7 separate regions of the Homo sapiens genome follow, and regions 1, 2, 4, 5, 6 and 7 are each linked to region 3. The links are contacts of gene promoters, found by promoter capture Hi-C in blood cells and fetal thymus (Javierre and others, 2016). All regions are on one chromosome and are shown on one strand. The core of a region is centred on a gene start or on the middle of the fragment in contact, and the rest is flanking DNA. Distances in the headings are between cores, read along the strand shown.

Region 1 (4,126 bases), core at 1,565-4,064, 1.7 Mb after region 3:
CAAAAACAAAAAAAGAAAGAAAACAATCATGGGAAACAATTGAAAGAGCTGCCAAAGCCACAGGAACCTGGCTAGGATCTCCACTAGCACTGTGCTTGCATAGGTGTGGACTAAATAAATACGCAGCTAGTGACCAATCACCACTACTGATAGGAAAACGGGCACCCCTCTGTGACTCCTCCTTCAGGGAAGAGTTCCAGCCTGCCACCTGAAAGAGCAGCACTGCCAGAGGCTTGAGCCACAAGACGGATGGGAGACACAGAGGCTTCACAGGCCTTCCTGGTGCACCCAACCTCTCCTTCTTCTTCTGCCCTCTTCAGTGACAGCCTCGAACTCTCCAAGACTCCAACTTCACAAAGGTAATACAGAAGCTGCTCTCAAAAGTGCCTAAGACACAGAATAGCATCAAAGTCAGAGGAAAAGGAAAGCTGGTGTTCGGTATTTCAGGTTCACACAGAAGAAAGCTGGAGACTGTATTAGTCTCCTGTGGCTGCCATAACAAATTACCACCAACTGAATGGCTTAACACAACAGACACTTATTCTCTCTCAGTTTTAAACGCCAAAAACCCAAAATCAAGTGGTCATCTGCAGGGCCATGCTCTCTGTCAAGTCTCTAGGTGAGCATCCTTCCTTGCCTCTTCTAGCTTCTGGTGGCTGCCAGCAACCCCTGGCTTTCCTTGGCTTGTAAATGTACTATTCCAATCTCTGTTTCTGTCTCCATAGGGCCATTTCCCTGTGTGTGTCTCTCTGTATTCAAATTTCCCTCTTTTTATAAAAATACTAGTTGACGAACTAAGGCCCACCCTCATCCAGTATGACCTCATTTTACCTTGATTACTTGTGCAAAAACCCTATTTCCAAATGTCACATCCATAGTTTCCAGATGGACATAAATTCAACTCAGTATAAGGACAAATTACCAAGAGCCACAGCCTTCAATCCAAAGGTTGAGTCACTGCTGTAACTCCACACAGCAGCTCTGTTATTCTTACATCTAAGCTGATTAAGAATTAGAGTTTAGACTGATGAGGAACCAAAACCTTAAGACCTAAAAGTAACACATAAAAGTTACACTGTCATGTGGCTCCTCTTCCCTGGACTCTTATGTTCTACAGCATTTGTTCCTGTCACTACCAGGACCTCCTACCCACCACCATTCCAGAATCTTCACTCACCTTGGACCCTGACACTGGTTTTGTTGAAAGGTCTTACTGTTCTCGAATCAAGCACGGTCCTGTGGAGTCGAATAGGGTCTCCGGCCACCTTTGATGACTCCCTTCATTCTCAAAGCCACTGTCTGAGCTGTCAGTAACTCACGCTGCTAACCCCCAGATCACTCTTAAAAGTAAACTTTCCTTTTTTTTTTTGAGACAGAGTTTCGCTCTTATTGCCCAGGATGGAGTGCAATGGAACGATCTCGGCTCACTGCAACCTCCACCTCCCAGGTTCAAGTGATTCTCCTGCCTCAGCCTCCCAAGTAGCCAGGATTACAGGCATGTGCCACCATGCCCAGCTAATTTTGTATTTTTAGTAGAGACTAGGTTTCTCCATGTTGGTGAGGCTGGTCTCAAACTCCTGACCTCAGGTGATCTGTCCACCTCGACCTCCCAAAGTGCTGGGATTACAGGCGTGAGCCGCCACACCTGGCCAAAAGTAAACTTTTCTAACTGGATGCAGTAAATTCCAAAGTTTATCATTCAAACACTCAAACAATAATATTTATTATGAAACAGGAGTACAAACCATTTTACTGTGTTTATGAATGATTCTACTCAGACTTATCTTCGTAACACAATTCATAATTTTCAGCATTCCAGACTTCAGCTTTGGAACAGAACTATGTTCTGAAATCTTGACGTTTGCTTATCTCTGATCTGTTTTCACCAGTGGCTGATTTTATCCTAGGTACCCTCCACGTAATGTCTCATTCCCTAGGGCCCTGGCATAGCTCAGCGCCACAGCAATCAGACAAGGACTCTGGAGCTCTGGAGCTGTATAGCATCTAGGGTGTACCCAGGTCATTCCAGCCGAAGAAAAAAAAAAAAAAAAAAAAAAAAAAAAAAAAAACTTCCTGCTAACACAACATAGGAGGTGGTTTTGACACCAGCAAGCAGAAACATGGAAACTCACAGGGAAACTCTAGTCCTCTTCTATGCTCAAGGCAAGAGCCGCAGCCCTCAAGAGACCACAGGCAAATCAAGTGGGTCAAAAACACCACACCCCCTGCAGAAACTGATCCACCCAGCAGACGGGGGGCCTCAGCCCGGCCAGCTTCCGGACTCCACCAAACTTCACAGCATGACCCGAATCAGTTCCTTCCAGCCTCCCCAAGGAGCCCAGGAGTTTCTCGGAAAGAAGCCTGCCAGTGTCAGGAAAAACGCCAATAGCTCCTCCTCGTCCTTGCAAGCCTCGATCCTACGTGCAGCCACTGTCACCCCCAGACCCCACGCTCCGACCTCCGAGCCCCCCAACGCCCGTCACACCATCCAGCAGTCTCCTCAGAGTCCAAGTTGCCCTCTCCAGACCCCCGACTCCACCCGCAGCCCAGGAGGCCAACGCGGCCACCTGACCTCTGACCCCTGACCCCGACCTGGCCCTCCGCGGCACACCCACCTGCCCGGGAGCTTGCTGTTGCTGCGCTTCCAGAATTGCTTCCTGGCCCCGTCGCTGGCCATGGCCCCTCCTCATCCCTCAGACCCGCGGCCCAGACACCCCGAGTGCACCCGGCCCTCCCCTAGCGGCCCTTTCCTGTGCCCCGGGTGGCCCCTCACTGCTCCCGGGACTCCAGAGCCTAGAGCCGAGAAGCTCTTCCGCCTCCTTCCGGAAGTTGTGCCTACGCGCGCCCGGAAGTCCCGCCTAAGTCCCTGGTGGCGAGTGACGCAGCACTCCGAGCGCCCGTCGTTATTAAAGGGCGACGCCGCGCAACGCACGTTACACGCATCGCGGAGGGAGCGGAGGTGGTTGGGTTTCTGAGTTTGAGTCTGTCGCTCCTGGCTCTCCCGACACAACAGCGGCGCCCACCTGCCCGCAACGGACTCCCAGGAGCCTCGAGCTCCTCATTTCCAAAGCTGAACTGCCCCGTGTCTGATTCCGATTTCTCTTGAGCGCGTTTCGGAGCCGGCCCAGAACAGAGGGAAGCCAGACACACCATACCCGGCCCAACAGTGGCAGGGCGGCTGCGGGTGCTGGTCAAGCTGGGTCACCCGGCACTGAGTGACGATCAGCAAATACTCAGTGGACGAAATATTTGCAGTGCAGTGAGGTGAGGGGCATAACCGCGGAGCGTATTCGAAGAGATGAGAGAGACTGGGGATTAGGCCAGGCTTGAAGGGAAGAATGGTTTGAGCACCGAGGACAAGAATTAATTCCCCAGGCCTGGGTTCCAGCCTTGTGCGGCTATCACGTGCTTGAAACCTGGCTAGTCCGGAGTGAGATGCGCTTTACGTGTAAAATACAGGATTCCAAAGACGTCGTATAAAATAATTTGTATATTGTTTGCATGTTAGGTAACATTTTTAATGTATTGGATTAAATAAAATGCATTAAAATTATTTTTACATTCCTTTTACTCTTTTTAAAATTATTTTTACCTTTTTTATTCTTTTTTTCCGGGGGGGACTGGGGGTGGGTGTCTTGCTATGTTGCCCAGGCTAGTCTCGAACTCCTGCCCTCTAGTGATCCTCCTGCCTCACCCTCCCCAGTAGTTGGAACTGCAGGTGCACACGTTATGACTAGATCTTTTTACTGTGTGTGTGTGTGTGTGTGTGTGTGTGTGCAGAAAATCACTAAAAAAACCGTGTCTGGTTTGCATTACATTTCTGTGCTTCTTAGACCAAAGATTGAATGCTCAGGGACTGTCATTTCAGACTGGAGCTTTAGTGTATTTGGAGCTCCTGCCAGTTCTCTTTTAAAACAAAAATCTAAGACATATTTTCTGATTAAGAATTTCCCTGGAGGCTGAGGCAGGAGAATAGCGTGAACCCGTGAGGCAGAGCTTGCAGTGAGCCCAGATCGTGCCACTGCACTCCAGGCTGGGCGACAGAGCGAAACTCCGTCTCAAAAATAATAACAATTTCCCATGCCTCTTCATTTACTGGTAAGTAACATTGACTTAGTACTTACTA
Region 2 (3,664 bases), core at 313-2,812, 1.6 Mb after region 3:
AAAGGAAAAATATTTAATAAAAGGCTTAATATTACTACGGTAACCGCAGCAAGTTGTTTCAGAAATGAATAATAATAGCTCTGTTAGGTGCTTCATTAAAAATTTTCCAACCAAATACTGCCCTTAATCTTCTCCATGGAACAAAAGACTTATTCAGGATCCATGTAGAAGACTGAAAATAACGTCAGATACAACCTTGTGCCCAAGCACAGACGTCCTTACGTCTCAAGCACAGAGAAAGATGGAATCTAATCAGCTAAGAGGAGAGAAAGTTGGGTATTTATCCTAAAACAATTGATTAACAATCTCAATATCCCACTGTTACGTTCTTTCCTCCACGGATCAACAAAGACATTCCTCGTCTCACCAAAATGGCCTTCTCCTGGCACAGGCAACCGCCTGCAGATAATGCAGGAATCAAAGACTACAGTCACTGGACGCCAGGGTATGACCAAGAAACACCAGGGCCCACTGGACTCCAGGCACAGACAGGACTCCCTTCTCCAGAGAATTCCAGAGTTGGAGAAGTCCTAGAAACCAAATCTGACTATGGCACAGGACTTTTGAGACCACCCAGGCAATACTTGCTGGCATGAAGGAGGGCGCAGCATCTCCAACCCAACAGTCTCCTACCACTCTCCACTTAAGAGCCCAGTAGGACCCCTGGGCCTGGGATGACCCCGCTCAGACGTCCAGGCCAGCCTCACTGTGCTCAGACCGTCAACTGCTATGATGCCTGCAAGTGAGCAGGAGGGCTTCATTACAACTGGGTAAGTGACTGCTCCAGACCCCACGGGGGACCCAGATGGAAGCATCCAGCTCAGCCCAACCCTTCCCAGGAATCACTCGGCCCCACCTCTGCCTGGTTCACTCTGGCTGTGCTGTGCTCCTCTACCCACCCATAAGCTCTCCCCATCCTTATACCCAGTCTCCTGCAAACTCACTTCTGTCCCACCACGTCAAGCTGACGACTCAACCACACAGACATCTGGCACACACTCAGTCACTAGCTTTATGCTGGTGGCTACACTGCCTGGCACAGAGGAGGTGCTTAATGAATGCCCACAGGGGGTACAATCAGAGGGAGACAGGGCTGCCCAGATGCTTTATAACTAAATGCAACTAAGCTTATAAACTTCTCCAAAGAGGAGAGTAAGAAGAGAAGGAAGCAGCACGCAGTGGAATAGTTCACGGTCTACACAGCAGTTAACGGTGTACTCAGTGACTGCTGGACATGGGCACCGTGGCATGGCAAGACCACAGACGGGGATGCTTCTCAATGAGACTCCTACTTGGAATGCTTAGAACGGCTTGATAAGAATGTGCTTGGACCAGAGTGCCCACGCCCAGCATCTAGCATGCCTTACCCACATGTTTACACCCACAGGAAGGCTGGCTGGCCAGTCCAGCCCAAGCTTGTACTCCTTTGCAAATGACAGCCAAGAAGACAGAGACCGTGTGACCCTCAAGACCGAACAACCCCACAAACATCTATCTGCCTTGAGATGTCCTGACCCCATCCCAAATGCTTTCTGGCCCCAGCACAGCCAACGGCATCTGCCAGCATGATGAATGGAAGGCAGCTGTCCTTCCCGATGATGTGAGAACACAGGGTGCTGCCGGGTGCTACTCCCCAGGCTGTGTTTACGCTCACAGGTCAATCCGCTGTGAATGAGATGCAGTTTATTTTCATTAACAGAAAAGCTTGGCCTCCTTCACCCCAGGGAACTAGGATATCATACATCTCAGTTTACCCAGTTCACCGCTCACCTGCCCCTCTTAAACTGTTAAGAGTGCCCCGTTTACCCCCAAAACAGATGATAAACAATATGGCCCCTCTATTGAAAAACCCCAGAAGTCTACAGACGTCATCTACAGAACGCGTGATACCCACTCCCAGCCCCAACTTGCTGGATGGGTGTAAAGGCGTCACCCAAAATGTACTGGGGGCCACACTCTGTGCTCTTTTGGGCCCAGATAACAAAGGGGGCATGCTGAGGTGGCTTAATAACAGTGAATGATTCATATTTGGGACAGCTTCAGAATAAAGCCGAGTCTCAATCCCCTGGCATCCCAGGAGGAAGAGCTGCTGCAGCACCGGCCGGGCAGCCACTGTATACCCGTGGCTGTTTTATCTCTGCAGGGGAGTTATTATCATAAAAATCAATGACAACAACAACAGCTGACTTGACTGAGCGCTGCTCTGTGCAGGTGGTGGTTTGTATTACTGTATTAGTACACCGAATGCTCGTAACAACAGAAGCAAGTGATTCCCACTTGACAGATGAGGACCCTGAGCTAAAGGCGAGCAGCAGAACTGGCTCAGTGCCTCCCCTTGAACCACCACATTACAGTGGGTCATTTCACAAATGATGCCCTGAAATCCGGCCACCCAGCTGAACGCATGGAACTAAATCCATTTCCCACCAACTGCCTCAGGTACGCACAGTGTGCTCGAGGCACTGCAGACACTCAGAGACAGCCAAGTCCCAGGGTACATCAGGATCCCAGCCCTGCCATTCTGCACTCCTTCCATCTCCTCATGAACATGGGCCGCAGCACCTCCTTCAGCTCCCTTCTCATCGATGTCACCCAGACACTGCTCCATTCAACTGTGATGCTGTCAAGGCATGCCCTGGGCACGCAACAGCAGCTCTGGAACATCCCTACCTGTCAGGGCGCCAAAGCCCTCCCTCCCCAACTCATCTCCCGAAGCTGCCCGCTGGGCGTGGCTACACAGTGTGTGCACTGCCAAAGGGCCCTGGAGAACGTTCTGCAGTAAGGCTGATGTTCTACAGTTTGATCGGAGATCGCGCTGCACAGGTCATGCATTTGTTAAAACTCATCCCACTGATTTTTGTGCTGCAGGTTTGTACATTTCATGGTGTAAATATTACCTCCACGAAAACCCTAAATCAAGTTAATGACATGCATACTCAAGTGTTTACGGGGAGAACTGATATCTACAACTTACTTTGAGATGCATCCAAAAAGAAGAGACGGAATGATGGATGGACAGACAGAGACAGAAAGAGAGATGGAGGAGACCTAACATACTCTATATGGTGGCCTCAATGGATGGCCATGACAAGTCTTTCAGCTTTTCTCCATGTTTGAAAAGTTTCAAATAAAATGTTAAAAATAAATTCCAAGTCTTAGATCCCATAGAGACCCAAACCCATGACTGCTCAGCCTATATGGCTTTTGGCCGAATGAGATCCCACATCTTAGTTGTCCCTATCATTCAAATGGCCCCAAAGAAAGCAGCTTGTTATTTCAGCTCTGGGTTCTTCATGCCTTTACCAAAGAATGCAAAATTGATGGTGCCTGTTTTAAATTAAGGAAAAGTTTTTAAGTTGCAGCAAAAATACCTATACCTGTAACTTACAAACCCATCTATCCTTGTTTCATGTTGGATGGGCCAAATAATAATACAGAATGTTATTATTAGGGATACCAGGAATATCTGGATGCAATTTTTTTCCAGCTTAACAGATGTAACCAAAAAGTAAAAATGGTATGCAAATAAGATGTTCAACATGGGATTCAGATTTACGTAGACATTGTGAAATTACTACCAAAATCAAGTTAATTATATCCTTCACCTCACATGTTACAGTTACCTTGTGTGCGTGTGTGGTAAGAACACTTAAAACCTACTTTC
Region 3 (3,937 bases), core at 1,152-3,651:
CCCAAGCTTCTGTTATTAATTATTTCTGCTACTCTGGTAAGACCTTCTTACCAATTGTCCTTGTCCTGGCGAAAGGCTGTTTCCAGAACGCTGGGGAGGCCTCCTAAGGAGGAGGGATGAGTGTGGAAACCAGATCTCCCATCCTCAGCGTGTCTAAGCAGCAGGCTCAGATGTCTGTGCTGGGACACCAGGACTCCACTCGGCAGAGCAGGCGACAGTCTCAGGAAGGTGTGAGCCCGTCCGGATGAACAACGTGCTGACACCTTAGGATTCAGGATGCAGCGCAGGGTGGGAGAGGGCTGACGCTGCGTGTCTTGAGACAGTGTGTACCGCGCTCCTCGCGGGCTCGGGAAGTGCGGTGTTGAAGCCACAGGGCCCTGGTGTCAAGTACTTCGCAACAATTAGCAGTTGTTCTTTTCCACACCTGCTGAGCTGCTGGGGGTTGGGGGTGAGGTGTTGTCCTGGGTTCTAGCAGCCAGCCAGGGATGGGCCGCCTGTAGTGGGCTCAGGGCACTACAGCCCCTCCCCAAACACTGCTGAATGAGCCCCCTCTCCCTCTCCTCTCCTCTCTCTCCTCTCCTCTGGGGTGATGCCACCAGGAAGTGCATTCAAATGCCTCCTCTTCCGCACAGAGTTTACCTGCCATTAACCCTTTCTACATCTCCTAGGAAGCCTTGCTTGGGGATCTTCTAGGGAATCCCCCCACATACCCCTGCAGGCCCCGTGACGGCCGCGGAAAACTCGGGGGCAGGCACAAATGTCGCTCAAACCCCCAGACCCTGCTCCCTGCAGGCGGCCAGCCAGTGAGTTCCCAGGGGCGCCGGCGCACCCACGGTGGCCTCGTCTGCCTGGGCAGCTCGGGTTGAGACCCCCAGGCTTGGCGACCCCTCCCCGCTCGGTGCCACAGCATTTCTAGGGAAATGCATAACCGCGCTGAAGCAAGTAGGAAAATTCCTGCTCTGGTCCCCGGGTTTCCCTTGCGATCCTGGCGAGCTGGGCTGTCCCAGGACTCCGGAGGCCGATCCCGCGGCTGCCCGGGTCTCCCTGGGCCACTGTGCTCTCATTTTGGCGACAGCGGAAGGATCAGATCGGACTGGGAGCTTGGAGGCCCGGGGCTCTGGAGGAGGTGGTGTCTGTGGAGGGAGGTTCGGTGCTGGCCTTTTTTTTTTTTTTTTGTAAAGAATCCATATTTTTCCATCACCTCCCGCGCCCATGGCAATTCTCCATGACAGGTGCTCCCCAGCACCCGTCCTATTCTCCCGCTGAAGACAAGAAGCCCGGAGCTCCCGGAGCTGAAGCCGACCAGCCCGCGCCATCTGGGGCCAGAGCCTGTGCCCGGGACGCTGAGCGGCCCCCACTTACCCCACCAGCCGCGAACGTGCCCCGGGATGCTGAGCACCCTCCCCAGCGCCGAGGCTGGAGTCTGCACCCGGGACTCCAACCACCCCTCATTCCACCCGCCTGGAGCCTCGGCAGGGGCACAGGCCACCCCCCACCCTTCACTCCAGGCAACAGGGAGCCCGCGGCGGTCACCCCCTACCCCAGCCCTCAGCTCACGCCCGGGCGCCCACTGGCCCGCACCACCCCAGCCCGCGCCCGCGCCAGTCCCGCCGGTCACCAGCTCGGGCCCCAGACACGACCCGAGAAACGTCCGCGGCCGCGGCGAGCCCCCTCCGGGCATCCCATCCCTCACTTCGCTTCTCTTTCCAGAAGGCGCCTGACGAGCCCGTTTCCCGGGAAAGCGGAAGCTCCAGCTGCTCCTCCGAGCCCAGGCTGGGCTCCTGCCTGAAGAGCTCCTCTCCGGGCTCGGCCGCCGCCTCCCCCCTTGTCCCGGGCTGAGGCACGGGGAGGGCGCTCCGCAGACACCCCGGCAGCGCCGCCCGCCCTCCGCGACCTGCGGCTGCCTCCTGAGCGCGCATCTCGGCCGGGAAGCCGCTGGCTGGGCTCCGACCGCCGGGCAGGGACGGGCCGCGCCACCCGGGGCCTGGAGCCCGGGCCCTGCCGGGGAGTCAGGGAAGGGAGGCTCGGGCCGGGGCGTCCGACCCCGAAGTGCTCGAGCGCCCGGAACCCGGGTGGACCCTCTCGCCCGCCCAGCGCAGCGTTGGACCGGCCGGGACTCGGGGGACCATGCGCCCGGCGCTCGTAACTCCGCGCCGACTCCGGGAGGCCCGCGGGGCGCCTGCCGGGGCCGGAGGAGGGGGTCCGGGGCCCAGAGGGCCGTGCCGGGGCCGGGGCCGCGCGGTACTCACTGCAGTAGGCGATGAGCAGGCTGGCCAGGATCATGAACGCCCAGAAAGTTGAGGACATGCTGGGCAGGGCGGTCGCATCTTGCCGGCTGCCGGTCCTGGGCGATGGCGCCATTGAAGCCGCGGCGCCCGCGCGGGGGGCAGCAGCGCGTCTCAGCAGCCGGCCCTGCCCGCGCCCCCGCGCCGGCCTCCACGTGCGGGCCCCGCGCGCGCCATCCTCCGCCGCCGCCGCCGCCGCGCCCGGGCCCCGGCCCACCGCGCCCCGCGCCGCGCCCGCGCCGCCCGCGCTCGCGCCCGCGCCCGCCGACCCCGCGCCGGCCCGCCAGGGGGACGCCGGCCCCGCTCTGGGCGTCACTGCGCGCCCCGGCTACGCGCGCCCCGGCATCCGCGAGAGAGGCGCGCGCCCGCCACCGCTGGGGGCTCCAGCCGCCCGCCGACCCGGGCCTGGCAGAGGGGACGCGGCGCCCAAGCCGCTCCTCCGGATGGCGACAGAGACGGCCTGACGCGCCCGCAGCCTGGGCCCCCCACGGGGAGGACGGCCGGGCCAGGTGAAGTTCGCGCACTTGGGCCTTCCGCGCCCCCATCCACCGCAGCCAGGGCCTGGAAGGCTGGGGAGGGGGCGGGGGCGGCAGACGCCTCCTAAGGTGGGTTCTGGGACTTGGATCCGGAGTTTATTCCAAGGAGAGGGTGCTCTGGGCCTGTTCCCTAGGTGTGCCCTGTTACCCAAAATCGGGCTTGTGCAGTGGGGTCCCTGAGTCCACTGGGAGCACAGCCTCAGACCCCAGCAGAGTCACCCTTCATCGGAAGCCCACCACCCTGAGGGCTCCTCCTCCACCTGGGGCGGCACTGCCAGGCACAGGCACGCACTTTCCCTCAGTCCTCTGCCCCACGATCACTCTACTCGGGCACCTCTGCCACTGCCTGGTCCTTGCTGAGCCATCTCCTGGTTCATCTCCCTGGAGTCCCTGCAGGACCGGCTCTCAGTGGCGTCTCCGGGCTCCCAGTCCCAGGACTGGTCCTATCCAGGTGGGTTTTCTGAGCAGGATGACAATGATCGCAATCTATTTTACCTGCATAGTCAACGATCATCTGCAAGACAGGTTCACTCCTATAACAAGCAAAGGATGGGGGGAAAATGAGCCTTGTAAGGACACAAGGACACTTTCCCCATCTCCAACCCTCCTAGTCATGTCCCCTCTGCACCTCCCTCTACAGCCCAGGAGATACGCTCCCCAGTCCAGGATGTCCAGATGGCCCTGCTGCCTGGAGAGGCTCTGGCCCCTGCCGGTAGCTGCCACAGCACCACCCCAAGCTCTGCCTTCCTGCAGGTTCGTGCACACGACTAATAGAACCCCTCCTCTGGAACTCACAAGATATTCTCCATCCTGCATAGGGCTGGGGGCTTGAGCACCCCAGGAGATTCTTTTGGCGCTGGAGACCCTTTTCTGAGGAGCCAGTAGAGGGCCTGCAAGTCAGATTGAGCAACCAGGGAGAAGAAGCATCATCCCTTCATCTTGAGGCCTGGTCCAGGGAGGTGAAGGGATGTGGACTGTCCCCAGCCGTACACTCACCCACAACTCATGCATGCAAGCATTCATGCCCCAATGCACACACAGCACCACACACACACATATTTTCCTTGAATCTCTCTCTCTCTCTCTCACACACACACACACACACACACACACACA
Region 4 (4,179 bases), core at 364-2,863, 1.7 Mb after region 3:
AAATGCACAGACCCCAGAGCATCTCTCTACAGAGCACTTCATCACCAAAGGAAAAAGGGGAGCTCTTCAGTGGAAAGAGCTGGCAGACGCCACCTCAACCAAGTGATCGGAGTCCACATCTTCAACGTGAGGACCCACCAGCACCACGTGCCCCCGCTGTGATGACCAAGGAGAACACGAATCCCTTCAGTGATGTTCCTGCCAAAAATTATCAATCAGAATCTCATTGTGGGCAAACATCAGACAAGCACAAACCAAGGGACATCCCACAAAATCACTGGCCCGTGCTCTGCTAAAGTGTCAAGATGGAAATGCAGAGACCGGCAAAGCTGCTGCGCCAGGTTAGTGGAGAAGACAGAGGCGTGACATCCAAATGGAACGCATGGTCCCCACTGGAGTCTGGACTAAGAAAAAAGAGGGAAAGGACATTACTGGGACAACTGGCAGAATGTGACTATGGACTGTGGATGAAAATAATACAAGTGTTAAAATAGTACTGTGTCAACGTTAAATTTCCTGATTGTGACCCCTGTGCTGTGATGATACTGAGGGAATGTCTTTGTGCTTAGGAAATATGCAGCGAAGGTTTCAGAGGTAAAGGGATATATCTCCAACTGACTCTCAAATGGTTCAGGAAAAAAATGTATATATACACACAAAAACAGGCACACACATGCAGAATGGTAATGGGCAAACGTAAACAATTGGTGATTCTGGGTACAGAGCATATGGGAGTTGTTGGCACTATTCATGCCAACTGTTCTGCAAGTTTGAATTGCATCAACACGAAACGTTTAAAACAACAGATGCATGGGCCATCGCTGGAAGGAGACACCTCGAGCTGTGGAAAGGAAGGGAAGGTGGGGGCTGGGACAGGCCTCATTTTCACATACACCCTGCTGTGCTGTGTCATGTTATAACACATGCAAGTGTTGCTGTTTCAAAAAAAAACAAACATAAGGAAGAAACAACCACCCACTCTGAGAACTCTACTCAGAGCTGTGTCCTTCTAGCCAGGAGACCTTCCAAGAGCCCTCCCCCGCCTCGAGAACACAGCTTCAGCCATGCCCTTTGAACCGCTGCTTCTGCCCGGAAACCCTCTCCCTGCCCTGGGCTTGAGCGTGAAGGCCCGGCTGCTGCAAGCTCCTATATGGCCCCTGCATGGCTCCTGCGTGGCTCCTGGCGGCCCATCCGCGTGCGCCACTCGCCACCTCCTGGCCAAGCCAGGCGTTGCACCTCTGGCTCTTAGAGTGCCACAGTGACACCAGTCATAACTGTGTGATACAGGTTTGTCCCCTCAATGAAGCAATCTCATGACCAAGGCCACATTCCGGTCCTCCCGAGAGCTCCAGCGTCTAGCAAACACCTAGCCAGAGTGGCACTCCACAAAGATGAGATAGGGAAAGGAAGGACGTGGATTCAGCAGGAATTCCACCAGAGGAACTGAAAGCAAGTGCGTTCCACAGAGCCTGGCCACGGCAGTCCACATGGGCACTGCGTGTGCCTGGAAGCAACTCGCGCAGGAAGAGTCACACTGGTGACTGTGCTCTGCCCTGTGGGCCTGCCCCTCTGCCCCAGCCTCACCCCTGCCCCCTTGCAGGGCTCACAGCCTGTCACCCTCTGATGACTGCAAGCCCCATGGTAGGAAAGTACAAAACCAGCAGATTGAGTTGATGGTCACCAGCGCTGTGCCCCCATGAGCCACTGTCTTCAGAATACTGTCAAGAACAAGGATGTCCACCTGGCCAGCCTCGAAGGGCTCACCAAGGGCAGCAATAATAAAGAGTGCAAATGGGACAACAGGAAAACAGAATGGGCCAGGCGTGGTGGATCACGCCTTAAGCCCAGTGCTTTGTGAGGCTGAGGCAGGAGGATCTCTTAAGCCTAGGAGTTCAAGACCAGCCTGGGCAACACAGGCAGACCCGTATCTGTAGAAAAAATTGTTTAAAAAATCTGGTGAGCATGGTGGCACAATCCTGTAGTCCCACATACTCAGGAAGCTGAGGCAGGAGGATTGCTTGAGCCCAGGAATTCCAGGTTGCAGTGAGCTATGATCACACCACTGCACTCCAGCCAGGCAACAGAGTAAGACCTTGTCTCAAATTTTAAAAAAAGAAAACAAAAAGGAACGCAAAATACATTTTCAAATTGCATGGGAAAAACATTAACAAAACTTGTCTAAAGCACAAATTGCTACTACCTTAGTGACTGACTTGAAAATATTACATGAAAACATCACCTTCCTGCAAGGCAAATTACACACGGACGCGTGTGCATTACATAAGCATACATAGAATCCTTTAAGATGTGATCTATTTCAGAAACAGCAAGAAATGTCTGTGTGTGTCCTCCAGAGGGCAGGGTGCTTACCAAGGTCCGTGTTGGGGCCGGCAAGCAGCTGCTTGAACTTGTCGAGCCGGGAGGCCTCTCTTTCGCTCAGCGCTGAGCTGCTGAGAGTGCTGGGGTCAGATGTGCCACCCAGCGTGACGGTGGCCGAGTGTGGGAGAGACTGGGACCTCTGCAGAGGGGCGGCATCGCTGGCACTTTCTGCAGGGGTGAGAGAATGGGGGTGAGGGTGAGGGCGCTCCTCCCGACTACACGTTCCTCCTTGCTGTGCCACTGTCCCTTTGTGAATGCTGATGGGTCCCTTCTTCCCATCACTCAGCAGTGGGGACCTTGGTTTCTTGAGCAATAACATGGAACTGACACCTTTGAAATTCACTCGCTTCACTGGCAGAGTATTATTCACCAACAAAATGGACCACCTTGCATAAAAGCAACACAATGACAGCCAGAAAACTCCAGGGCCCCTCGGGCTGTGTGGAGGTCAGGCTCCCACCAGTGCCTGGGGTGGCAGATCAGGGCCTGCCCAGGTGACATGACCCAGAGGGTCTGTGTAGGACGGTGCCCTCGGGTCAGCCAGGCCTGAGTGCGGAGGGCAAGCCCGTGAGTTACCATGAGGGAAAGGAGAAAGCCTGCAGAGGTGCTGAGGACAGAAGGCAACAGTGGGGACACAGCAGGAACCAGGGCGCTGCGAGGGCTCTCACCTGCCATCTCAAGAGCGTGCCCAACCCCGCCACCTGCCTGGCCCTCCTGGGTCTCACCAGTGCCCTGGGAGGAAGGTCCCACAGGGACCCTCATCCCAAGGAAACAAAGGAAGCCAGACAGGTGAGGGATGGCACCTTCCCAGACCCCACCACAGGCAGTGACCGCAGTGGCACTAGAGTACAAGCTGCCCGCCCTCCCTCCCGCCCTCTGCTGCTGCCCACCATGGCCCCACTGACCCCCAAGACGGACAGGCCCAGGGGGATCCAAGCAGGTGGTGAGACAGCACGTTCCACCCAGCAACCCGGGACCGGGTCAGCCCAAGGGAAGACCCTAAGGCCCTCAGATCACTCAACACTGCCATCCGAGACCAACAAGCAAGAGGCTGGGAAAGGCTCCAAACTCCTGGGTCTAAATCCTGTCTAGCTATCTCATTTTTCAAAAACTGAAAATTAAAGTAGAGTGAAAAATAAACTCCAGGAAATGGAGCCGAAGCAAACGCTGCAGCTGACGGGCCGACATCCACTCCAGCAGCCGCTGAGCAAGGAGGTAGGAGCCGCACTCCCCCGCGCCCTCCTTCCCACAGAGCACCCCCATTTCCCTTATAACCTGGGAGTGGGGGAAAATAATTCACACAGAAACCCTCAGGCTATCCAGGAGCCAGGCAACCTATGGCCTCTGGGCAGAATGTGGCCCAGTTAAATTTCCAGAAAAGTCTGCTAAAGTGGGGACATAGACTTCAGAGTACCGCCCTGTCTCCTCCCCCATCCCCGCTGCCCACTCTCCCTGACTCCCCCCAACCCCCAGGAGGATCTCCTCCCACCAGCCTCAGTGCCCTTGCAGTGATTCCTATTTTGTAGCAGCCGCACACCAAGCAGTGGGCTGGGGCTCCAGCCCGGGGCGTCTGGCTCCAGAGTTTCCGCTGCCGGCCTTACTGCAGACAGGGCTGAGAACCAGCACCTGAGCAGAGGGGAGGACCATGGGTGACAGTGCCCCCTCTCCCTCCTTCAGAGGCTCCTGCTTCAGCAGCACTTACAGTTCCTCAGAGTGAATATTCAGCAGGAAGAGCAGCTGTGCACTGAGTCCCAGAATTAAAGGTGCTCAGCTGGACTTCCCTGTGATCTTCAGAAATGA
Region 5 (4,107 bases), core at 96-2,595, 1.7 Mb after region 3:
GAGAAAGAGAATGGGTCCCTGACATCAACACCAACTCTTCAGGACTGTGCCCAGAGCTGTCTTTACAACATGATTCAGAAAAGCTTAAATTTAAAAAAACAATAAACAAAATACTAAAATCCAATACTTGCTGAGAATCTACTTCTGGATAGCTAAGGCCTCCAACTTGGTCCTTGCCTGACAGCAGCGTGCAACACAGATGTCTTCAGCTTCTACTGACTACGCTGCGTTATGTTTCTCCATTCAAGTCACTCAACAAACACTGACTGGGCACCTGCTCCACACCAGGCCCGGGCTGGTCCTGGAAAGCTGACAGTGAACAAGCGAGAGTCCCTCTCCCTGTCCTTGGGCCGCCTCAGTGAAGGCAGCTAATCCATGAGGATACAAGTGACTCTGAAGCAGGAAGAGACAAGTCAGAGTCAAGAGGGACAGAGCGACTCTGGCCAACGCTGCAAGGCCGCTGGGTTTTGACAGGAGGCAGCTCTCCCTGGCAGATCCTGCAGAATGTTTTTCTGGTTTGAATTTGAAGCCTCTACACCAAGGTGCTCTTTTCAAACAAACCTGATGGTGTATCAGAACAGCTTTTTTTTTTTTAATTGAAGGTTAAACAGCAGTAGGTGAAAATAGCAGTGAGGGAAACAGGGAAGAGTGAAAGAAAATAAAAGTATGGAAAAGCAATAAATCCAGCTGCAATGTTCTCAGGATCATAAAATAAATGAAACATTTACGATTAAATGCTTCTCTGTATTTCACATATATGAAGTAAACAGGCAAGTCATCTAGTCAAATTCATTTGATGGCTAATCAACCTCTCTTCTCCAAGCACAGTCATTATTCAGTGCCCCCTTAGGGGTCAATAGCAGCTTTCTGAAATACGTACTCAAATTGGCAACTGAATTTACCACTCAGCTCATTCTAACACATGGTGATACTCCCCAGATTTATAAAATATATTCAGAAGTAAATTTTCCAAGGAAATTAACTCTAGGAGCTTTGGAGGAAAAATGTACGAAAAACCATCATGGCAACAGTGAACAATTCCACCATCCCCTCCGTCCACAGCATAATCTGAAACTTGTGCCCACCCCGAGGGTCAACAGCAGAAACATGTGGTACCTGAGACCCAAACCAGAGGGTCTCCGAGGGCTGTCCCGCCCCGACACCCACACCACTCTGACTGGCAGCAACACATACGCTGTCCTGCAAGGCTCCCAGCTATGTGGTGCTGCTTCTGGACCACAAACTCCCTGCTACAGGGGCTGCATTTTGTCTCATGTCACACTCCTCACAGCCCTCGGAGCACTGAGAACCCAGTAGGGGCTGAGGCAATTACTGGGTCAAACGGACATCTCTGGAAATAGGTCTTGGAAACAGCATTTTTACAATGATTTTTTCCCGCACATAACAAAAGCAATGTGTGTTTATTATAGAAAACAGAAAATATGAAGGAAATGGAAGTATTTTGAAATTGTCCTGGCCAGGCGCTGTGGCTCACGTCTGTAATTCCAGCTCTTTGGGAGGCCGAGGCGGGCAGATCACCTGAGGTCAGGAGTTCGAGACCAGCCTGGCCAACATGGTGAAACCCCGTCTCTACTAAAAATACAAACATTAGCCAGGTGTGGTGGTGGGCACCTTTAAAAAAAAGAAAGAAAGAAATTGTCCAACACAGAGAAGTCAAGCCACGCACCACATAACGACATTTTAGTCAACAACAGACCACATATAGGACCATGGTCCTGTAAGACTATAATGCAGTTGAAAAATTCCTGTCACCTAGTGATGTCACAGCCAAAGTTACATCACATCACAAAGCATACTCCTGTGTTTGCGGTGATGCTGATGTAAGCAAATCTACTGCACTGCCAGTCCTATAACAGTATAGCACATACATTATGTACTGTACGTAATACTTGATCATAATGAACAACTATGCTACTGCTTTATGGATGTATTCATTGTACTAATTGTATTATACTTGTTTTTTTATTTGAGACAGAGTTTTGCTCTTGTCATTCAGGCTGGAGTGCAATGGTGTGATCTCGACTCACTGCAGCCTCTGCCTCCAGGGTACAAGCGATTCTCCTGCCTCAGACTCCTGGGTATCTGGGATTACAGGTGCCCACCACCACGCCCGGCTAATTTTTGTACTTTTAGTAGAGACGGGGTTTCACCATGTTGGCCAGGCTGCTTTCGAACTCCTGACCTCAGGTGATCTACCTGCCTTGGCCTCCCAGAGTGCTGGGATTACAGGATTACACTGTGCCTGGCCTATTGTACTATACTTTTTATCATTATTTTAGAGTTATGTTCCTTCTGCTTGTTTAAAAAACAAAATACAATAAAAGCTGTAAAACAGCCTCAGGCAAGTCCCTAGTCCTTCAGGAGGCATTCCAGAAGAAGGCAATGTTATCATGGAAGATGATGATTCCATGCATGTTATTGCCCCCGAAGACCTTCCACTGGGGCAAGATGTGGAGGTGGAAGCCAGTGGCACTGACGGTCCCGACCCTGTGTCGGCCTAGGCTAATGTGTGTGTCTGTGTCTTAGTTTTTAACAAAAAGCTGAAAAAGTAAAAAATAAAAAATTTTAAAAAGAGAAAAAAGCTTACCGAGTCAGGATATAAAGAAAAATATCTTGGTGCAGCTGTACAACGTATTTGTGTTCTAAGCTATGTGTCAATAGAAAGGAGTCAAAAAGTTTTTTAAAAATCAAAACGTTTATGAAGTTTAAAAGTCACAGCAAGCTAAGGTTAATTTACTACTGAAGAAAGAAGGTGTGTTTATGAATCTAGTAGAGCCTAAATGTAGAGTGCTAATGACATCTACACGATGCACAGTGAGGACCCAGACCTTCCCATTCACTCACCCTTCATTCACCGACCCACCAAGGGCACCGTCCAGTCCCGTGAGCGCCAATCGCACCAGCTGCCCTACACGAGTATGCCATTTTATCTTTCATTCTGTATTTGTACTATACCTGCTCCATATTTAGAGATGTTTAGATACAAAAATACCAACCATTGTGTGACAACTGCCTGCAGTATTCAGAACAGTACCATGCTGTACAGGCACATAGCCTCAGAGCAACAGACGGTGCCGTACAGCCTAGGTGTGCAGCAGGCGACACTGCGCTAACTCTACCTGGGTTTGTATAAATGTGCTCTGTGATGTTCACACAGGGACCAAATCACCTAAGGACACATGTCTCAGAAGGCGTCCCCGTCGCTAAGTGATGCATGACTTTCGGAGCGGCTCCGCCACCCTGGCAGCCAGCCATCACCGAGGCCCATTTCCCCTCTCTCCTTCTTGCTGCTTCTCACTCAATCCTGGCCCTGCCCAGCTTCCCCTCAGGACTCATCACACTGAGCTCTTTCTTCTTGCTCCCTCCTCTGCCTCCTGCCAGCCTCTCTGCATGCCCCAGACTCTTCTGTGTGTTCCCAACTCTGCTCCCCAAAGCCGAGTCCTCAGTCCTCCTTCCTTCTCTTATGAAAAATCATGCTCTCTCCTGACCTCCTCCACCCGAGTAAACGGTTCTCAAACACGTGCCTCCAAGCAAAACCACTGCCAACTCTCAGCCACGAATCCACCACCTCACGTCAACGGGTTCCCCCAAAAAATCAGCTGTGCCCCACCGGCCACTCCTCACACCCACTCTTCGGTCCCCACCCTTGGACAACATCACTCTCTACCAGTCACACAAAAATAGACAATGTGCTCATCCCTGCCTCGTACCTCTCCCTCGAGCCCTCTTCTGGCGGCCCCTGGCTCTCACTGGCCCATGTCCTGGCATCGAAAACCCTCTGTCCCACTAACTTAAATCGGGGCTCCATTTTCTCTCATTCTGACCATGTATCTCCTGTGACCACCTCCAGAACTGCCATCCACCAACAGGAGGGTCAGCCTCGTCTCCTCCCTGAAGCACACCACCCACCCACGTCTCCACATCCTCTAGGTCACCTTGGAAACCTCCCACACATCTCTCTTCTCCTGTCCATCAGCCCTGGCCCTGACCCATCCCCTGCTCCTGAGAAGAACATGACAGTTGCACCGGCTGCCCCAGGGTTTGGCCTCAGCTCTGTCGTCCTGTGCCCATCAGAGGATGGGTCAC
Region 6 (4,046 bases), core at 491-2,990, 1.7 Mb after region 3:
TGGGGAGCACAAAGGGGAGCACCCATGCCATATATCCGCACAAAGAGCTGCAGAGCGGCCTTAACGCTGCTCACGTGGTTGAGACAGACAGTCCCTGCGGATAAGACAAGCACCTCCAGATGAAGTCTTCACTGCCCGCCCCAGTAGAAAGTGGCCCATCATCCATCATCCTGGGACCCCAGTACGCTCCACCCAGGTACTCTCAGAGAAGAGAGGAGTCATAGGTCACCCTTCAGAAGCCCACCTAAGGCTGAGACCTCACTCACACCACCAGGCTGCACAAAGTGACCAAGCCCACACGCATCCTCAAGTGGAAATGACAGCAGCTCTCTCTGGGCAGGCCGATCACCTAGGCTGATCAGACGTTCTGCTGGCGGCCAGGACTCGTTTTGATACGAGAAGACTACGACTTATAAAATACCATTTGGTACACGCATGTTCAAAAGGTAAGTCCGTGAGAAAGGAAAGCAGATTCCGAAGGGGCTCTGGGTGGCTGAAATGCCTTAGGGATAGGCAATGTGGGTGAGGTAGTCATGTTTTAGAAACACAAGCTGCACCGATGGTGAAAATGCCAACGTCATTAAGAGGACATTGAACACAGTTTTCTCCCGAGGTGATGCATTCGCTGCATGGGAGCTCAGGAACGCCGACTCGGCCTGCATGACTTGCCCCACGTGAGGTCACAACACCATCGCGTGGTGACGGCGGGCAGAGCACTCTCCAAGGTAAGTTAGAAGCCTGACCTGAACAGGCAGGGGGCGCCATGGGACCCGGGAGACCCCACTCACCTGAGGACACAGATTATAACCAAAGAGTGCTGAGGAATCGTGGCACTTATAAATAGGTCGTGAAGATAATTTTAACATAATTTGCTTTCCAGGCACAAAGAACCCTGTCAATCAACTCTACAACAGGATAGAGGAAAGAGTCTCTGTTGATGGCTTCCTGGCAAAGGAAGAAAAACAGATTTTACAGTGAGCTAATCTGTCTTTCAAAAAAAAAAAAACGGAAACTAAAACCAGATTTACGTTTTCGTGTATTCATTCAACAGCTATCTGAGTGCTGACTGCAAGCCAGGAACCGTCCTGCACAGCGTCCACAAGTTTCACTCTGGATGGGGCAAGCGTCTGCCCAGGTTCAAATCCTGACTCTGCTGCGTGGGTGCTATGGGATTGTCCAGTCACCCCTCTGAAACTCATGTCCTCATCTCTAAAATGGGTACAACACTTCACTTTGTAGGACCATAGCACTCAAGCAAGCTCCGGGACAGTCTCCGGGACCTCGCTTCCACCCAGGCTGGCCCTGCTGAGCCTCACAGGAGCCCTGGGTGCCCAAGCTCCACCTGCATCCCATCCACCTTCCAGGACACCAGGACACGAAAAGCCCTCTCCCAAACACACTAGGACAAGACAAAACCATCAGCGAAAAATCCGCTCAGGAAATTGACAGCAGAAACACAGATGGCCCATAAGATGTGAAAAAAGAAAACTTGATCAAGTCTTAAAAATAGGCATATCTTTGGAAACAATAATTTTACATTGAGTAATTATCCCAAGAAAATAACCAGAGATGAGAGCTAAGATGTGAGTACTAAGATATCTGAGGCAGTGTTTAATGGGAAAAACTTGGAAGAAACAAATGGAGAACAGGGGCGGCCAGGAAAGTGTGGCCCAGCCAAACAATGGAACCCCACATTGGTACCGAATGTCGGCTTGCAGAAGAACATCCAGTCACACAAAGGGCCACAGTTTAGCGTTAAAAGAAGACCACCAGCTGGGTGTGGTGGCTCACGCCTATAATCCCAGCACTTTGGGAGGCCAAGGTGGGCGGATCACGAGGTCAGGAGATCGAGACCATCATGGCTAACACGGTGAAACCCCATCTCACTAAAAATACAAAAAATTAGCCAGGCGTGGTGGTGGGCACCTGCAGTCCCAGCTACTCGGGAGGCTGAGGCAGGAGAATGGCGTGAACCCGGGAGATGGAGCTTGCAGTAAGCCGAGATGGCGCCACTGTACTCCAGCCTGGGCGACAGAGCAAGACTCCGTTTCAAAAAAAAAAAAAAAGAAGACCACCACAGTGTCTCATCACCCAGGTGAACTTCTGTTTGAAAAACGTTTTTTCATATTACATATGCAATATGTGAGGGCAATTTTTATTTAAAACAATTCAGTTTAGGCTGGGTGTGGTGGTTCATACCTGTAATCCCAGCACTTTGGGGAGGCCAAAGCGGGTGGATCACTTAAGGCCAGAAATTCGAGACCAGCCTGGCCAACATGGCAAAACCCCGTCTCTACTAAAAAGACAAAAATTAGCCAGGCATGGTGGTGTATGCTTGTAATCCCAGCTACTTGGGAGGCTGAGGCACAAGAATCGCTTGAACCTGGGAGGCAGCGTTTGCAGTGAGCTGAGATCGTGCCACTGCACTCCAGCCCGGGTGATAGAGTGAGACTCTGTCTCAAAAGAAAAAAAACAATTCACTGTAATCTTTTTTGGCAAGTGGGTATTATATAATTCATATGAAGGGAGAGAACAAAGTTCTCTGCATCTCCTGGTAAAGGGAGACGGGCAGATTCCAAAGGCAGAGCCATTGCGGGTCCCCTGTGCTGGTGAGGGGAGCTGGGCCCCTGCAGAGAGGAAACACAGCACAGGCATGGGCACGGCGGGGTTCAGACCCCCAGGAAGAAAAAGGCACCTCTAAGAAATTCCTGGTGGCAAAAGGAATTTCTCTGGGGGGAACGTGGATGTTTAGTCATCGATTTTAAGTTATTACATAACTATTACATTATCCCTGACACTCCAAAACTCCACTGACGCCTGCTGCACACGCAAATGCCTTGCGTTAAGGGAAAACACAGGCACCACCCTTCTTTGCAGAATTAAAAATGTATTGACCCAAGCAGATCAGCACATGAAAAAGAATGCTGGGCAGGCCAGGTCTCAATGTAACTCCAGCATCCACACCCCACGTCCCCATCCTGGCATCTGCCTCGGCTACAGATCACTACAGACACACCTGTGTCCAGCTGCCCACTTGACACCCTGACTGATGGCTCAGGGCACCTCAGGCTTTACATGTCCCAAGCCAAATTCCGTCTCTTTTCTCCCCAAATCTGCTCCTCTCCAAGTTGCCCCATCCTCAACAGCCACTCCTGATGGCCCTCCTTCCCTCATCCTTCACACCCAGTCCCTCAACAAGCCTCCTCCCCACAGCTTTAAAATACACCCCCTCAAACCCCAGACTTCTCATCACCTCCTCCACCTCCACCGACTCCAGCCACCACCCTCCTAACTGGTCTTCCTACCTCCACAGAAAAGCCACAGGGATCTTTCTGAAAGCCTAAGTCGAATCGCGCCAGCCCCAGCTCAAACCTTCCACTGGCTTTCCACCACAACTAGCATGGAATGTGACCTCCTTCCACCGCCCTCAGGGGCCTGCAGGATGCAGCTCTGATTCCCCTCCCTCCTCGCTCGCCTCCAAGCTCCACCTTCACTTCACTGCAGCCACAGCGGCCTTCTTGGAGAAGGACCACATGCACACCAAGCTCATCCCCACACACCCCTCCTTAGAGGGTTATGTGCCCCCAAATCATCAGGTGGCTATCTCCTCTCATCCTTTGGGTCTACGCTTCACTGTCACCCCATCAGAATGACCATCCAAATCACCTTCATAAGCAGCCCCTTCTTCACCCCTGCACCGTCCAACACAGGAGCCTCGAGCCACGGAAGCTACAGGACACCCAAAAAGTGGTCCAGCTGAGAGACGCTCTAAGTAGGAAACACACTCTAGGCTTAGTACAGAAAACTGAGTGTAAGTTATCTCATTGACAGTTTTTATATCTATTATATACTGAATTTATAACGTGTTATGGTGATATAGTTTATATATTATATTAATAAAATGTATTACTAAAACTCATCTCACCTGTTGCTTGCTACTTCCTTACCACGGCTACAGGGACACTTTAAATCACACCCGGGCTGGCACTGTCGCCCTGGGTGGTGCTGCCCCAGACCATGGTCCTGCATCATCTGAATCACAGCTC
Region 7 (3,672 bases), core at 767-3,266, 1.8 Mb after region 3:
CTCGGGGGTCTGTGTGTGTTCACGTTTCCTCTTCTTTTTTTTTTGAGATGGAGTTTCGCTCTCGTCACCCAGGCTGGAGTGCAATGGCGCAATCTCAGCTCACCTGGGTTCAAGCAATTCTCCTGCCTCAGCTTCCGGAGTAGCTGGGATTCAGGAGCGCACCACTGCACCCAGCTAATTTTTGTATTTTTAGTAGAGACAGGGTTTCACCATGTTGACCAGGATGGTCTCCAATGCCTGACTTCAGGTGATCCACCCGCTTCAGCCTCCCAAAGTGCTGGGATTACAGGTGTGAGCCACAGAGCCCGGTCAACATTTCCTCTTCTTGTAAGGACGCGCTGGATGAGGGCCCACCCTAACAGCCTCATTGAATCTCCTGTGTGTTTTGTAACTGATGTTGCTGTCTCCCCCAACGGAGCTCCTTCGGGGCCTAAGCACTTCTGAGTCGTCTCTGGGCCCCCACCTCTGGCTGCAGGATTTTAAGCCAAGGCGTGCAGCCGGGGGACAGCAACGTGAATACGCCGGGAGGGGCACGGGGAGCCTAAGCACAGGGAGGCCCAGGGAAGGGGTCCCCAGTAGGGACGCTGGTGCTCTCGGGCCCCTGCCCATGCCACCCTTGCCTGCCAACCCTCTTCGCATGCAGCGGCACCCTCCTGCCACTGGCATGAGCTTTTCTTTCCAAGTAAGTTTCAGATCCACATTTCCCAGGCCTCAGAGCGGCAGCTGAGGGAGGGAGGAGGCTGGGCAGGCCTCGCTGCTGCACACCCCACTGTGTGCCACGATCAGGTACTGCCTGCTAGGACTCTGACTGGGCCCACGGTGGCTGCAGGACTGTCCTGGGGCCTTCACTGCATGGCCTGAACAGGGGCTGGGCTCCCAGGGAGGAATGATTCATGGCTGGTTCCCGCCCTATAGACAAGACAGTCACAAGGAGCTGGCAGGGTAAGACCTGTATATGCTGCCACCTGGTGCCAGGCACAGCAGCAAGGCCACGTGGACCTAGCCCACCTCACCTCTGCCTGCAGCAGCAGGGCTGGGTAGGGGAGCCGAGGGGAGGGGCAGGCCTCAGACCTCAGTGTCACATCCAGGCAGTGTCAGTGTGAGCCTAGGCTCTGCCACACTGGAGCCCTGTGCTCTTGGGCAAGTGACTTAACCTCTGTGAGCACAGTCTTCACTGATAAATCAGGGAGGGATGTGCCCTCCGAACCAGGTTGTGGCTGCTTCCTATGGGGCTGTGTTAAGCACTGCGGACGCAGAGACTGGAGCTTGCATGAAGGCGCACGGCGTGCTCTGAAGGCAGGGCTGGAGTCCCTGCAGGCTGGTGATTCCTTCAGCTGTGGGGTCAAGGAGGCCTTCCTGGGGAGGCGGTGAATTGGGGCCACAGGGGCCGTGTCTCTCCAAGTCTGGGGCCCAGGCTCCGGTTCCTAGGGCCAGCTCGGGGGCGGCTGCTCAGCTGTCTGCTCTGTGGCTTCAGGCCCCAGAGCAGTTCAAAGGGCCAGCGCCCCCGCCCCCTAAAAAGACCTCCGCCTCCTGAAAGCCTTACCTGCCTGTCGGGGCCCAGCTGCAGGCCCCCTCCCAGGCCGACAGGACGCCAGGATCGTAGAGGGCACCCGCCGCCCAAGGTCACGTCGCCCGTGGCGCCCCCATCCAGGCCCGCCCCCCGCCGCGCCCGATCGCCAGGACTGCGTTTCCACGCCGCCCGGACCCCGCCTGAACCGAGGCCCGCGCGGAAGGCGCCACTGAGTCCCGGCCGGCCGCGGGAGCGCCAGATTCAGCACCCGGCACCCGCCGGAGAAGAGAGGAGAGAAAGGCAGCCGCCTCCCGGCCCCAGCGCCCTGGCCTCGGCCAGCCCCATCCCGGCCCCTTCCTCCTCCCTCTTCTCCCCTTCTCGGGTCCCCCCGTCTCTCCCTGGCTCCCGGCCCCTCCTCTACCCACGCCTCCTCCTCGCCCCCGCCCCGCCCGTCCCCTCCGCGGTCCCCGCCGCCCGCGTACGGGGTGACGCAGCGCCGCCTCCCGCCGCCCGCCGCCCGCCGCCCGGGCCACTGCAGGGGCCGCTAACGGTCCGGCGCCCCTCGGCGTCCGCGCGCCCCCAGCCTGGCGGACGAGCCCGGCGGCGGAGATGGGGGCGACGGGGGCGGCGGAGCCGCTGCAATCCGTGCTGTGGGTGAAGCAGCAGCGCTGCGCCGTGAGCCTGGAGCCCGCGCGGGCTCTGCTGCGCTGGTGGCGGAGCCCGGGGCCCGGAGCCGGCGCCCCCGGCGCGGGTGAGTGTCGCCGCCGCCCGGGTTCGGCCGGACCTGGCCAGGGAGCGGGGGCGGCTTGGGGGACCCGGCTGGGGGGACCGGGTGCAGGGAGCGAGCGGCTGTGGTAAGGCCGGGGGCCCTGGGAGCGCAGGCGCCAGGGAGGGGTCGGGGCAGGCGGGAGGGAGGCCGGGGCCAGGGGCCGGGCTGTGCGCCGCCGTCTGCTCCGGGAACCCGAGGACAAAGCGCCGCGCAGTGGAGGGGAGGCCGGCGCCCCATCCCCGCGGGGAGGTGGGACCCGGGGCGCGGGGTCGTGGCCCCCGGTGCGGTCTGTCCGCAGGGCACCTCTGGACAAGACGGACTGTGGATGGATCCCGAGGGGGGGTGCCAGGCGCTCCCCACCGCGCGCATTGCAGTTTACTCCAAGAACAGATGCTTTTCTTTAGCAGGGATCCGAAACCTGAGAGGCGCCCTTGCAGGGTGAGGACTTCCTGTTAAGAAGTTAAAGAAGGGGCCCCTGACTTTCTGTGGGGTGTGCTCCCTGCTCGGGATGGGGGAATTGGTTTCCGTGCCACGGGTTGGCTACTTGCCCCGCAGAGGCCCTCCGGATGAGGAGAAGAGTGACTTTGGTAAACATGGAGGACGCATAGCCCACCCTGGAGAGAGCCCTGCAGGAGGACAGAGGGTTTGTTTTTGTTTTTTGTTGTTTTTTGTTTGTTTTTTGTTTTTTTTTTTTTTTGAGTCGGAGTGTTGCTCTGTTGCCCAGGCTGGAGTTCAATGCCACGATCTTGGCTCACTGCACCTCCGCCTCCTGGGTTCAAGCAATTCTCCCTGCCTCAGCCTCGGAGTAGCTGGGATTACAGGAGCCCGCTACTACGCCCGGCTAATTTTTGTATTTTAGTAGAGACAGGGTTTCACCATGTTGGCCAGGCTGGTCTTGAATTCCTGACCTCAGGTGATCTGCCCACCTCAGCCTCTCAAAGTGCTGGGATTACAGGTGTGAGCAACCGCACCCAGCCTTTTTTCTTTTTAATTATTGGGGTGGGTGTGGCAGAGGCCAGGATTCATGCTGGATGTGCGGAGCTGGAATGGGGTGGGTGTGGCGGAGGCCAAGATTCTCTGGTGGATATTCGGAGCCTGGGATGACACCTTTAGACCCTGTGGGCAGTCGAGGTCAGGAGTTCTTCTGGGCGCTTTCTGGTGCTGAGTGGTGAGGATCTGTGGGTTGGGTTCTGGTGGGGACAGAGTTGAACGTTAGGTGGGGCCAAGGTCGAGGGGTGGTCTCAGACCCATGACCAACACTTGGTTTCCAGCCCTGGGGTCACCTATCTGTGGCTGGGCATCTGAGACTTGACTTTCCTAAGGTATTTCTCATGTCCCCTTTGGTAGAAATGTCACACCCCAAATATCACCCACCAGGGCCCACACACAAGGA

What was found. Contacts are between HindIII fragments. The CHiCAGO score rates a contact against its expected background, and 5 or more counts as called.
Region 1: a contact is called between the fragment with the promoter of TBC1D22A here and the fragment with the promoter of TAFA5 in region 3, in 1 of 17 cell types (endothelial precursors). The highest score is 11.9, in endothelial precursors.
Region 2: a contact is called between a fragment that was not itself captured here and the fragment with the promoter of TAFA5 in region 3, in 1 of 17 cell types (endothelial precursors). The highest score is 14.3, in endothelial precursors.
Region 4: a fragment that was not itself captured here is called in contact with the fragment with the promoter of TAFA5 in region 3 in 2 of 17 cell types (endothelial precursors and megakaryocytes); the score reaches 15.6 in endothelial precursors.
Region 5: a fragment that was not itself captured here is called in contact with the fragment with the promoter of TAFA5 in region 3 in 1 of 17 cell types (endothelial precursors); the score reaches 5.7 in endothelial precursors.
Region 6: a fragment that was not itself captured here is called in contact with the fragment with the promoter of TAFA5 in region 3 in 1 of 17 cell types (endothelial precursors); the score reaches 5.8 in endothelial precursors.
Region 7: a contact is called between the fragment with the promoter of CERK here and the fragment with the promoter of TAFA5 in region 3, in 1 of 17 cell types (endothelial precursors). The highest score is 15.2, in endothelial precursors.

Annotation. Positions count from the first base shown.
Region 1 is chr22:46,761,338-46,765,463 of GRCh38, reverse strand. TBC1D22A (TBC1 domain family member 22A) reads right to left here and starts at 2,814. Exons shown (of 13, transcript NM_014346.5): 1 at 2,616-2,814. The coding sequence starts at 2,677. TBC1D22A-DT (TBC1D22A divergent transcript) reads left to right here and starts at 2,936. Exons shown (of 1, transcript NR_186691.1): 1 at 2,936-3,553. RefSeq lists enhancers at 1,097-1,146, 1,167-1,246, 2,287-2,366, 3,067-3,196, 2,933-3,767 and 1 more and a silencer at 2,107-2,166. The HindIII fragment of the contact is 21,480 bases long and covers 1-4,126 here.
Region 2 is chr22:46,841,818-46,845,481 of GRCh38, reverse strand. The region is part of intron 4 of TBC1D22A (TBC1 domain family member 22A); the gene reads right to left. Among named protein-coding and RNA genes, the nearest start is that of TBC1D22A-AS1, 72 kb to the left of the region's middle. The HindIII fragment of the contact is 289 bases long and covers 1,418-1,706 here.
Region 3 is chr22:48,488,017-48,491,953 of GRCh38, reverse strand. It overlaps TAFA5 (TAFA chemokine like family member 5), which reads right to left and starts at 2,401. Exons shown (of 4, transcript NM_001082967.3): 1 at 2,250-2,401. The coding sequence starts at 2,361. RefSeq lists an enhancer at 1-323. The HindIII fragment of the contact is 4,041 bases long and covers 9-3,937 here.
Region 4 is chr22:46,795,812-46,799,990 of GRCh38, reverse strand. TBC1D22A (TBC1 domain family member 22A) reads right to left here. Exons shown (of 13, transcript NM_014346.5): 4 at 2,371-2,547. Among named protein-coding and RNA genes, the nearest start is that of TBC1D22A, 35 kb to the right of the region's middle. RefSeq lists an enhancer at 1,174-1,674. The HindIII fragment of the contact is 5,305 bases long and covers 1-4,179 here.
Region 5 is chr22:46,776,927-46,781,033 of GRCh38, reverse strand. The region is part of intron 1 of TBC1D22A (TBC1 domain family member 22A); the gene reads right to left. Among named protein-coding and RNA genes, the nearest start is that of TBC1D22A, 16 kb to the right of the region's middle. RefSeq lists an enhancer at 3,264-3,343. The HindIII fragment of the contact is 2,520 bases long and covers 86-2,605 here.
Region 6 is chr22:46,823,906-46,827,951 of GRCh38, reverse strand. The region is part of intron 4 of TBC1D22A (TBC1 domain family member 22A); the gene reads right to left. Among named protein-coding and RNA genes, the nearest start is that of TBC1D22A, 63 kb to the right of the region's middle. RefSeq lists a silencer at 548-706. The HindIII fragment of the contact is 9,408 bases long and covers 1-4,046 here.
Region 7 is chr22:46,736,596-46,740,267 of GRCh38, reverse strand. CERK (ceramide kinase) reads left to right here and starts at 2,016. Exons shown (of 13, transcript NM_022766.6): 1 at 2,016-2,261. The coding sequence starts at 2,120. RefSeq lists enhancers at 1,174-1,503, 877-1,535, 2,774-2,943, 3,631-3,672 and a silencer at 1,664-2,623. The HindIII fragment of the contact is 34,881 bases long and covers 1-3,672 here.